Regions from separate parts of the Homo sapiens genome. Here all the other regions are linked to region 2. The links are contacts of gene promoters, found by promoter capture Hi-C in human tissues and cell types (Jung and others, 2019). All regions are on one chromosome and are shown on one strand. The core of a region is centred on a gene start or on the middle of the fragment in contact, and the rest is flanking DNA. Distances in the headings are between cores, read along the strand shown. Region 1 overlaps FANCA (FA complementation group A). Region 2 holds the start of TUBB3 (tubulin beta 3 class III). Region 3 overlaps LINC02166 (long intergenic non-protein coding RNA 2166).

Region 1 (4,631 bases), core at 2,132-4,631, 170 kb before region 2:
GGTGGCTCACGCCTGTAATCCCAGAACTTTGGGAGGCCAAGACAGATGGATTACCTGAGGTCAGGAGTCCAAGACCAGCCTGGCCAACAAAATTAGCCATACAAAAATTAGCTGGGTGTGGTGGCAGGCGCCTGTAATCCCAGCTAATCAGGAGGCAGAGGCAGGAGAATAGTTTGAACCCGGGAGGTAGAGGCTGCAGTGAGCCAAGATCCCGCCACTGCACTCCAGAGCAAGACTCTGTCTCAAAAACAAACAGACAAAACAAAACAAAACAACAACAAAAAAAAACAGCAGGAGGACACTCATGTGCCCTTCACCCAGATTAACCTCTGGCTAACATTTTACCCCACACATCATTTTTGCCTCACAAGTCTTTTGTTGTTGTTGTTGTTGTTAGGACAGTCTCAGTCCGGTTGCCCAGGCTGGAGTGCGGCAGTGCAGTCTTGGCTTATGGCAGCCTTGACTCTCGAGCTCAGCTGATTCTCCTAAGTCAGCTTCCTGAGTAGCTGGGACTATAGGTACACACCACCATGCTTGACTAGTGTTTTGTATTTTTAGTAGAGATGGGGTTTCACCATGTTGGCCAAACTGGTCTTGAGCCCCTGACCTCAAGTGATCTAGCCACCTCAGCCTCCCAAAGTGCTGGGATTACAGGCATAAGCCACCGTGCCTGGCCGGCTGTATTTTTTAAAGAAGAATAAAGATCAGGTGCAGTGGCTCACGCCTGTAATCCAACAATTTTGGAGACCGAGATGGGTGGTTCACTTGGGCCCAGGAGTTCGAGACAAGCCTGGGCAACATGGCAAAACTCCGTCTCTACAAAAAATCAGCTGGGTGTGGTGGCGCACACAGGTGCACGCTGTCAGGATTGCTTGAGCCCAGGAAGTCAAGGCTGCAGAGAGATATGATCGCACCACTGTACTCTAGCCTGGGTGACAGAGCAAGACCCTGTCCCAATAATAATAATAATTATGATTACAATTAAGAGGAAAAAGCAGATGGTCTCACTGAGAAGGAGCCAGGTGGGTCTAGGGAAAGCATCTGGCTAAGGAGTTGGGAGGCCCCAGAGCTGGCGGAGGGAGAGACAGGGGCCTGGCACAGAAGACGCACGGGTGGCCAGCACCAGTAAATGCCTGTTGACTGACAGTGAACCCACACAGGTACATGCTGCCTACCTGTATAGACTTCAGGTGATCCACCAGCCTCGGACTCCCAAAGTACTGGGATTACAAGCCTGAGCCAACAATAAATATCTTTTTTTTTTTTTTGAGACGGAGTCTCACTCTGTCGCCCGCCCAGGCTGGAGTGCAGTGGCACAATCTCGGCTCACTGCAAGCTCCGCCTCCTGGGTTCATGCCATTCTCCTGCCTCAGCCTCCCGAGTAGGTGGGGCTACAGGTGCCCGCCACCACGCCCGGCTAAATTTTTGTATTTTTAGTAGAGACGGGGTCTCATCGTGTTAGCCAGCATGGTCTCGATCTCCTGACTGTGTGATCCGCCTGCCTCGGCCTCCCAAAGTTCTGGGATTACAGGCGTGAGCCACCGCGCCTGGCAATAAATATCTTAATAGCACGCGGCTTAAATGAAGTGAATGCACTGAGTTGTGGCACCCTCAAACTCACCTGCAATCTGGAAATAATATCCTCATTTCCTGTGCGGCCACCAAAGACCAAATCAGAATTTTCTGAGTGGTCATAACTCCTTGAGCTGAAATGAAAATACAATAAAATCCTCCTCAGTATCGCCTAATAGTGCTGAAGTTCCCAGTTCTCCTCCTGCCTCCGGAGCTGAGTGATGGCTGTGCTTCTCTGACAGTGTGACCCTCACATTAGTCAACAATAAACAACAAAAACTGCCACAAAATACTACCAACCCCAACCTAGGAAATACAAAAATTATGTACCATGACCAAGGAGGCTTATCCCAAGAATGCAAGGATGTGGGTGGCAAGCCACCCAGGCACCAAGGCAAGAGACAGAGGACACGAGCTGTTCCAGTATAATAAAATATAAAACAAGAATAGTTATACCAGATATAGATCTTAGATATGATTACATATGAATATCATTAATCATTAGTTGGTAGCAATTACTTTTTATTCCAATATTATGATAATCCTCACTCAATAATCATAGCCTAGGAAAAACCAGGCCATACAGAGATAGGAGCTGAGGGGATATACTGAGGTGTGACCAGAAGACAAGAGTGCGAGCCTTCTGTTGTGCCCGGACAGGGCCACCAGAGGGCTCCTTGGTCTAGCGGTGATGCCAGCGTCTGGGAAGACGCCCGTCACCAAGCGGATCGTGGTCCAGCGGTAGCAAAAGGTGTCAAGGAACAACACCCACTACTTAGCAGACCGGGAAAGGGAGTCTCCCTTTCCCCCGGGGAGTTTAGAGAAGACTCTGCTCCTCCACCTCTTGTGGAGGGCCTGACATCAGTCAGACTCGCCCGCAGTTATCCGGAGGCCTCACCGTCTCCCTGTGATGCTGTGCTTCAGTGGTCATGCTCCTAGTCCACCTTCATGTTCCATCCTGTACACCTGGCTCTGCCTTCCAGATAGCAGTAGCAAATTAGTGAAAATACTAATAGTCCCTGATATGCAGAAATAATGGCGTAAGCTGTCTTTCTCTCTGTCTCCTCTCCCTCTCTGCCTCAGCTGCCAGGCAGGGACGGGCCCCCTGTCCAGTGGACATGTGACCCACGTGACCTTACCTATCATTGGAGGTGACTCACATTGTTTACCCTGCCCCTTCTGCCTTGTATCCAATAAGTAACAGCGCAGCCCGACACTCGGGGCCACTACCGGTCTCCGCGCATTGGTGGTAGTGGTCCCCCGGGCCCAGCTGCCTTTTCTCTTATCTCTGTCTTGTGTCTTTATTTCTACACTCTCTCATCGCCGCACACAGGGAGAGACCCACCGACCCTCCGGGGCTGGTCCCTACACAAGGATAGCTTAAGATCCCCAAACCAATATAACGCAGTTATCAATAAAATAAAAAGCAAAAACCGTAAGATTATCTCAATAGATGTAGAAAAAGCACTTGACGAAATGTGACATCCTTTTGTGATAAAAACACTCAATCAACCAGGAACAAAGGAAATCTTCTCAATCTAGTGCCTGGCATGGATGAAAACCCACAGCAAACGTCAGATTTAATGAGGAAAGACTGAAAGCTGTTCTCCTAAGATCAGGGGCAACAAGGATGTCCTCTCTACACTCAGAACAGTGTCGCTGCCTCTACTCAACACTGCACTGGGGACAGACACGGTGGCTCACGCCTGTAATCCCAGCACTTTGGGAGGCCGAGGCAGGCAGATCATCTGAGGTCAGGAGATCGAGACCATCCTGGCCAATGTGGCGAAACCCTATCTCTACTAAAAATACAAAAATTAGACGGGCGTGTTAGCGGACGCCAGTAATCCCACCTATTGGGAGGCTGAGGCAGCAGAATTGCCTGAACCTGGAAGGCGGAGGTTGCAGACAGCTGAGATAGTGCCACTGTACTCCAGCCTGGGACACACAGCGACACTCTGTCTCAAAAACAAACAAACAAAAATTAGCTGGGCATGGTGGCGGGTGCCTGTAATCCCAGCTACTCGGGAGGCTGAGGCAGGAGAATCGCTTGAACCTGAGAGGCGAAGGTTTCGGTAAGCCGAGATTGCACCACTGCACTCCAGCCTGGGTGACAGAGCGAGACTCCGTCTCAGAAAAAAAAAAACAAAACAAAACAACAACAAAAAAAACAACACTGCCCGGGGAGTTCAAGCCGGGGCAATTCAACAAGAAAAAGAAAAAGCATCCAGATAGGAAAGGAAAAAGTGAAACTATCTCTCTTCACATATTATATGATCTTTCTTTTGTTTTTTTGTTTTGAGACTGAGTTTCACTCTTGTCGCCCAGGCTGGAGTTGCAGTGGCATGATCTCAACTCACTGCAACCTCTGCCTCCTGAGTTCAAGTGATTCTTCTGCCTCAGCCTCCCAAGTAACGGATTACAGGAGCCCACCACGATGCCCGGCTAATTTTTGTATTTTTAGTAGAGATGGGGTTTCACCATGTTGGCCAGGCTGGTCTCCAACTCCTGACCTCATGATCCGCCCACTTCACCCTCCCAAAGTGCTGGGATTACAGGCATGAGCCACCATGCCTGGCCAGACACGATCTTATATATACAAAGCCCTAAGGAATCGATACAAAAACACTCTTAGAACTAATAAATGACTAGAGCCAATGAATATACAAGAATCACTGGTGTTTCTATACGTTAGCAACAAATGATTCAAAAGGAAAGAAGACTCGCTATCACTGAGATGGCAATACTGCCCCACATGCAGTCCGTATCAGGGTCCCAGCTACTTTTGTCGAAACTGACAAGCTCATCCCAAAATTAAGACACAACTACAAAGCACCTAGAAAAGCCAAACCATCCTGAAAAAGAAGAACCAAGTTGGAGGCCTCACACTTCCCAATTTTAAAACCTACTACAAAGCTTCATCCCAATGACGCAGTGCATATGGACATACAGACCAAGGGAACACAATGAGAGCCAGAAACAAACCCTCACACGAGCAGCCATCTAACTTTTGACAAGGGTGCCAAGACCATTCAGTGGGGAAAGAAGTGTTTTCAACA
Region 2 (4,141 bases), core at 1,642-4,141:
GGGAGGTTGTGGGGCCTCAGGCTCCGGGCACCAGGGGCCAACCTCAGGCTCCTAAAGAGACATTTTCCGCCCACTCCTGGGACACTCCGTCTGCTCCAATGACTGAGCAGCATCCACCCCACCCCATCTTTGCTGCCAGCTCTCAGGACCGTGCCCTCGTCAGCTGGGATGTGAAGTCTCTGGGTGGAAGTGTGTGCCAAGAGCTACTCCCACAGCAGCCCCAGGAGAAGGGGCTTTGTGACCAGAAAGCTTCATCCACAGCCTTGCAGCGGCTCCTGCAAAAGGAGGTGAAATCCCTGCCTCAGGCCAAGGGACCAGGTTTGCAGGAGCCCCCCTAGTGGTATGGGGCTGAGCCCTCCTGAGGGCCGGTTCTAAGGCTCAGACTGGGCACTGGGGCCTCAGCCTGCTTTCCTGCAGCAGTCGCCCAAGCAGACAGCCCTGGCAAATGCCTGACTCAGTGACCAGTGCCTGTGAGCATGGGGCCAGGAAAGTCTGGTAATAAATGTGACTCAGCATCACCCACCTTAGCCCCTTCCAGAAAGTGCTTGAAGTTTGCGGGTGGAGGGATGGGGGAGGGGAAGGTGGGCAGGGGTGAGAGTCGAGAGGGAAGAAAGGAGTCCCGGAAAACGTGGCTGCCTCCCCAGGTGAGGAAGCCACAGCCCCAGAGGCCCCAAATGCCTGGGGAGTGTGGAGGTCCCAACCAGGCTTGCGCTGACCCTGCTTCTCGGTTTTCTCTCCGTGCTGACAAACCCCAGCCTAGAGGAAGGACGAGCAGGTGCAGCAGGGCCCCAGTCCCCTCCACTCTTGACGCTGTCCTAGCTGCAGAAGAGGCGGGTTCCCAGCCTTCCCTGTGACCACATGTGACCTCAGCCGGGACACATCCCTTTGCTGGCCCTGGCCCTGAGTCCCTCCAGCCATGATGAGCCGTGAATGGGACCATCCCTGTCCACTCTGAGATGCCTGGAAGGGGGCTCAGTGCAGGTGGGCTGGGGGCTGGGTCTGCTGTCTGCCCAGCACTGCCATTCTGGGAGTAGGCAGGTGGGGAAGGGGTCGGGGGTGGAGGGTCTGTGTTCAGCCAGTCCTGGGAAATGCTTGATGTGAGGCTTCTGAAGATGGCAGTGAGGCAGAGGCCCAGCCGGCGGAGAAGTCCCTGGGAGTGAGTACCTGGGGATGAACTATGCTGCCTGGTGCTGGGGAGCAGTGGCGCCCCTGGGCCATCCCTCTGCTGAAACCTGGGCGTCTCGCTGAAGAGACCACCTCCATTTCCTCTGCAGAGACTGAGCACTCAGTCAGCCCCCTTCCTGGGACAGGCTCAATGGAGGCTGCAGGGCCATCAGCCGACTCCTACGCAGGCTCAGTCAGCAGCCCCCTGGCCAGCCCCACCCCTGACTGCCGGCCTCAGAACTGGGAGCTGCTTCCTGGCAGGGCCCGCCTCTGCTGGGAGACCGGACGGTGAGTCAGCCTTAAGCCCGGCACCAGACCCCTCTGAGGATGGAGCAGGAGCTGGCTGCCCTGAGGCTGCAAAACTTCTTCCCTCGTGGAGACAGGGAGGCACCTCAGACACTCACCCCGGACTCCCTTGAACAGGGACAGGGAGGAACCCCAGGCAGCTAGACCCCAGCAGCAGCCACACGAGCACACTGTGGGGCAGGGAGGGGCATCTCTTGAGAACAAAAGATCCATTTCTCGACTTTCCAAACTGGAGAGCTTCTTGAGAGAAAAGAGAGAGACAGGTACAGGTCCACGCCACCCACACACAGCCCTGTGCACACAGACCGGACACAGGCGTCCACAGGCAAGTTCGCAGCTGCTCATTTTGTGAAGTGAATGCTGATTTGGGGGCCGGGTGGGGTTCGTCTGTACATCGTGCACTGTCAGACCCTTCCTGAAGGATTTTTGTTACTGAAGTATCAGAAGGCCCTTGTTCTAAGGTGGTGGCACTGTAATATCTGGCCCAGGAGGAGGTCAGTGCCGTGCCGGCGAGTCCTTTGCTCCCTTCCTTCTCTGACCAGTAAACGCATCTCCAGTCGCTCCCCCGAGGCCCCCCTGCACGCAGTCTCCGACCTCAGAGAGTGAGTCAGATAGAAGCCGCTGCCCACCCTCCCCCACCCTGGCCGGGTTCTTGCCTGGCTTGTGCGTCCTTGTGACAATTCCTGACACGGATGCGCACCGGGCAGTGGCACGTCCAGGTGCTGTGCGCGCCCGGGCCCACAAAGCTCCTTTGGACGCTCATGGCAGCCCCTTGGTGGAGGAGGTCGGGTGCCCACCCCCTCCCCGCCCACTGCGGAAGCCGGCGACCCACGGAGCTCGCTCTCGGCCGCCGCCACCCCTCTGTGTTCGCGCCCTTCCGAGCTCTGATCCGACGCTTTGTTTCTTCTCAGTGGGTTCAGGGCCTGGGCCAGCCTTTACCTACCTCCCCCACCCAAAACCGGCAAAAGCTCAGAGCACCTTGTCTGCCAAAAGACAGGGAGCTGGGATGGTGCGGGTTGGTCTCTAAACCGGCGTGGGGAAAAAAGACCCTCCGTACAAAGCCGCAGGGTGGGGCTGTCGCAAGGGCGGAACCGAGAGGGTAGCTGGGGGCGGGGTTCCCAGGGCCAAGAGGGGCCATTGTCCTCCCTGGAGCCCGGCGCCCCCACAGCCAGCTCCTCTGGGAGACAGCCCCTCCTTTCGAATGCGCGGGGCCCTCAGACCGCGCCCGGCCCAGCGCTGGGGGATCCTTGGCTGCGGGAGGGGCGCCGCATTGCGCGCGGCGGGCGGGGACGCGCGGTGCGGAGCCTGCGGGCCGGGCGGGGCTCTGCGGCGGCGCCTCCCGATTGGCCACCCGCGGTGACATCAGCCGATGCGAAGGGCGGGGCCGCGGCTATAAGAGCGCGCGGCCGCGGTCCCCGACCCTCAGCAGCCAGCCCGGCCCGCCCGCGCCCGTCCGCAGCCGCCCGCCAGACGCGCCCAGTATGAGGGAGATCGTGCACATCCAGGCCGGCCAGTGCGGCAACCAGATCGGGGCCAAGGTGAGGCTGCGCGCCCCGGCCTGTCCCGGGCCCCGGGGCGGGAGGAGGGAGGCGCCGTGCCCCGCGGGCCGCACCTCCAGCTGCCCCCGCCCCTGCGAACCTGCAACAAAGGGATGCGCCCAGCGCCGCGCCGGGCGGCCGGGACGCGGGGCCCCCGCCCTGGGACTCTCGCCTGCACCTCTCTGCCCCTGCCCAGGTGACCTCGGGCTGTCGAGGCGCAGCTCACGTCAGTCGCGAAGCCTCAGCCCCCTCCACACCTGCGCCCCCTCCACACCTGCACCCCCTCCACCGGGCCTCCGCAGGTGCAGCTGGGAGCCCTGTCTGGGCGTGGCCCTCTTTTTTGGGGCCGCGGCATAGCCTTGAGTGAGACGGGTGGGGTAGGCAGGTTTGGGTGGGGTGGGGGGTTCTCCTCACAGCCGTGATTTCCTCGGCCCGAACCCCCCACTGGAGTAGCCGAACGTCCCCCGAGAGGCTAGAGCCGCCCCGATTTCCCCAGCCTGCTCCGACACCCCTCGGCGTCCTAGCTCCACCCTGTCCCTTTGTTGGAGGGGTTGGGCCTGGACTCGAGATGACCTTGGTCCAGGACCAGGCTCTCCATCGGCGCAGCCGCTCCTGGGCAACCCCCGCGGGGCTTGACCGCGCCCACCCAGGGTCTACCAGTCTGGGGATTGGATGTGGGAACAAAGCCGGGCTGTGGGGTGTGGAGGCTGCACCGTGGCGCGCCCCTCCCTCCATTGTTAGCCCACCTCGCAGATGTTGGGGCCACGCAGAAAGGGGCGTTGGTGCAGCTGTGCAGGGACCCCTGCCTAAATCATTAAGGGGACGTCGTGTCCCCTGGTCCTGGGAGGCTGTCCCTGGCCCAAGGTCACACAGCAGGTGCGAGAGAGCTGGGCTGGCCCTTGGTTCTCATCCCCTGCAGGAGCCAACCTGGGGCTCGGGCGGGGCGGGTTGGGGGCGCTGCTTGCCAAAGGATCTGCCCTCCGAACAGTGTTGGGGAACAGGGGATCGGGGGGGGAGGCTGGCTTTGTCAGGACCAAGGCCAGGGACCCAGCTCAGGGCTGGTGCAGCGCTGATTCTGGGAAGGAGGGGGTGCAGGAGACGGTCCTGGAGGGGAAGGGGCCAGAGAAAGGCAG
Region 3 (3,062 bases), core at 528-3,027, 240 kb before region 2:
TAGCATTGTTATCTGCAGGACCTCTGGAATAATGGCTGATAATTGTTTATGTCTACATCTTAGCCAAATTCAGGCTCCTCTCCTCTCCCTAGCCTGGTGGCCCCTCATTAGTTTTACAAATACAGTTGAGTTTTGGGGAGGGGCTATTATCATGTAAACTATAAACATCTCCCAAAGCTAGCCCAAGAATAACTGAAGGCAGCTTGAAGGCTAAAGGTCAAAGGGGGTTTGGCTACATCAGATCTTCCCCAATTGGCATAATTTTCTCAATGATACAATTTTTGTGGCCGGGCTCGGTGGCTCACGCCTGTAATCCCAGCACTTTGGGAGGCCAAGGCGGGCAGATCACGAAGTCAGGAGATTGCAACCATCCTTGTCAACACAGTGAAACCCCGTCTCTACTAAAAATACACAAAAAATTAGCCGGGCGTGGTGGCGGGCGTCTGTAGTCCCAGCTACTTGGGAGGTTAAGGCAGGAGAATGGCGTGAACCTGGGAGGCGGAGCTTGCAGTGAGCCGAGGTCGCACCACTGCACTCCAGCCTGGGCGACAGAGCAAGACTCCGTCTCAAAAAAAAAAAAAAAAAAAAAAGCCTACATGGTAAATATTTATTCTTGCTACAGTTTATACAAATAACCAGGCCAAGTACAATAAGACTAAAACTTATTTTGAAAACAAATCAGTACTACCTGATTTCACTTTGGTAAAAATAGGAGACTAGAGAGAGAAAAATTATGTTTCAAAATAAACTATAGTATACCTGTTATTAGATTCTAGCCTTGCCTAAGGTTTTTCAACTTTTATTATTTTCTCTTTTTTTGTTTGTTTATTTGTTTTTTCAGACAGGGTCTCACTCTGTCACCCGGGCAGTGGTGTGGTATCAGTTCACTGCAACCTCTGCCTCCTGGGTTCAAGTGATTCTCGTGCCTCAGCCTCCCGAGTAGCTGGGATTATTGGTGTGCACCACTATGGCCAGCTCATTTTTTTGTATTTTTAGTAGAGATGCGTTTCACCATGTTGGCCAGGCTAGTCTCGAACTCCTGACCTCATGATCCACCGGCCTCGGCCTCCCAAAGTGCTGGGATTATAGGCATGAGCCACTGCGCCGGGCCAAAGCCGTGCTTTTCTTAAAGCTCTGCGAACGAAAGCTAGACAACTTAAACCTCAGAAGAGAATAATGGTACCTATTTATATACATAAACCACTTTCACGCCTGCCTGCTGTGTATGGACTTCAGAGGAACACAGCCTACGTCAGTTTTCTAGGATTGTTCTCTCCACGTGCTCTTTGTTTTCTTTCTTTCTTCTTCCCTCTATTTTCCTCCCTCCCTCCCTTCCTTCCTTCCTTTCACAAAGTCTCACTCTGTTACCCAGGCTGGAGTGCAGTGGCACGATTTTGGCTCACTGCAACCTCCGCCTTCCGGGTTCAAGCGATTCTCCTGCCTCAGCCTCCCGAGTACCTGGGACTACAGGCAACCACCACCACACCCAGCTAATTTTGTTAGTTTTAGTAGAGACGGGGTTTCACCATGTTGGCCAGGCTGGTCTCGAACTCCTGACCTCAAGTGATCTGCCTACCTCGGCCTCCCAAAGTGTTGGGATTATAGGCATGAGCCACTGTGCCTGGTCACAACACCTGCATTTTCTTTTTTTTTTGTTTTTTTTTTTGAGACAGAGTCTCACTCTGTCACCCAGGCTGGAGTGTAGTGGTGTGATCTTGGCTCACTGCAAGCTCCGCCCCGTGGGTTCACACCATTCTCCTGCCTCAGCCTCCCGAGTAGCTGCAACTACAGGCACCCGCCACCATGCCTGCCTAATTTTTTGTATTTTTTAGTGGAGATGGGGTTTCACTGTGTTAGCCAGGATGGTCTCTATCTCCTGACCTCGTGATCGACCCGCCTCAGACTCCCAAAGTGCTGGGATTACAGGCATGAGCCACCACGCCTGGCCAACACCCCCATTTTGTATACCACACTCAACTCCCCCATTTTCTACATGCTGATCAAAACCAATCTGAATGGAGTCTAGGTCTGGCTGTGGGCTGTTGGGAAGAGGCCCCCAAATCTGGCCATCAACTGGCCGCAAAACTGGCCATAAACAAAATCTCTGCTGCACTGTGACATGCTCATGATGGCCATGACTCCCACACTGGAATGAGGGCAAGGAACACCTGGCCCACCCAGGGCGGAAAACCGCTTAAAGGAGTTCCTGAACCACAAACAATAGCATGAGCGATCTGTGCCTTAAGGACGTGCTCCTGCTGCAGATAACTAGCCAGACCCATCCCTTTATTTCCCGTAAGAAGTGCTTTTAATCTATAATCTATAGAAACAATGCTTATCACTGGCTTGCTGTCAATAAATATGTGGGTAAATCTCTGTTCGAGGCTTTCAGCTTCGAAGGCTGTGAGACCCCTGATTTCCCACTCCACACCCTATATTTCTGTGTGTGTTTCTTTAATTCCTCTAGCGCCGCTGGGTTAGGGTCTCCACGACCGAGCTGGTCCCGCAGTGGGCAGTGGTTTGGGCCCGACCGAGCTGGTCCCGCAGTGGGCGGTGGTTTGGGCCCGACCGAGCTGGTCCCGCAGTGGGCGGTGGTTTGGGCCCGACCGAGCTGGTCTCGCAGTGGGCGGTGGTTTGGGCCCGACCGAGCTGGTCTCGCAGTGGTTTGGGCCCTGCTTGCTCGACTGGATTTCAACAGTGAAGCCAGATTAGAGGACATGCTGGCTGCCCCGATCCTGGACCTGGACCAATGGTGCTTCCTAAACATTCCATGTCAACTTTTCTTTTTCCACCTTCCAGGGCTGGGCTGTGAAAGAGATTGGAGAGGCAGGTGCCTGTGAGAGAAGCTTCTACCAGCCTGGGAAGTCAGGTCTTCCATGAGTGAGGGGAGGTATCTACTTTGCCAAACCTTGTTAGGGAATGCTGACATAGCTGCCTCTTCCTGCCCAGAAGCTAAGCTTGAATGCCACCCCTCACAGAGCTTCTCTCCTGTCTTTCACTCACTCCTGCTTATTTCTGTGACAGAACTTGACAGCATGGACATTGCCACTTGCTTCCTTCAG

What was found. Contacts are between HindIII fragments. The study calls those that stand out against the background at their distance.
Region 1: a fragment that was not itself captured here is called in contact with the fragment with the promoter of TUBB3 in region 2 in 1 of the 25 tissues and cell types used here (dorsolateral prefrontal cortex).
Region 3: a fragment that was not itself captured here is called in contact with the fragment with the promoter of TUBB3 in region 2 in 3 of the 25 tissues and cell types used here (lymphoblastoid cells, small bowel and spleen).

What each region holds. Positions count from the first base shown.
Region 1 is chr16:89,750,517-89,755,147 of GRCh38, forward strand. It overlaps FANCA (FA complementation group A), which reads right to left. Exons shown (of 43, transcript NM_000135.4): 31 at 1,622-1,706. Among named protein-coding and RNA genes, the nearest start is that of ZNF276, 31 kb to the left of the region's middle. The HindIII fragment of the contact is 5,421 bases long and covers 672-4,631 here.
Region 2 is chr16:89,920,451-89,924,591 of GRCh38, forward strand. It overlaps TUBB3 (tubulin beta 3 class III), which reads left to right and starts at 2,892. Exons shown (of 4, transcript NM_006086.4): 1 at 2,892-3,008. The coding sequence starts at 2,952. It overlaps MC1R (melanocortin 1 receptor), which reads left to right. Exons shown (of 1, transcript NM_002386.4): 1 at 1-522. RefSeq lists enhancers at 1-718, 1,605-2,488, 2,411-2,705 and silencers at 2,559-2,648, 2,669-2,818, 2,899-3,148. The HindIII fragment of the contact is 8,728 bases long and covers 1-3,738 here.
Region 3 is chr16:89,682,870-89,685,931 of GRCh38, forward strand. It overlaps LINC02166 (long intergenic non-protein coding RNA 2166), which reads right to left. Exons shown (of 3, transcript NR_184152.1): 2 at 1,941-2,806; 3 at 1-307. Among named protein-coding and RNA genes, the nearest start is that of CDK10, 2.3 kb to the right of the region's middle. The HindIII fragment of the contact is 5,110 bases long and covers 1-3,062 here.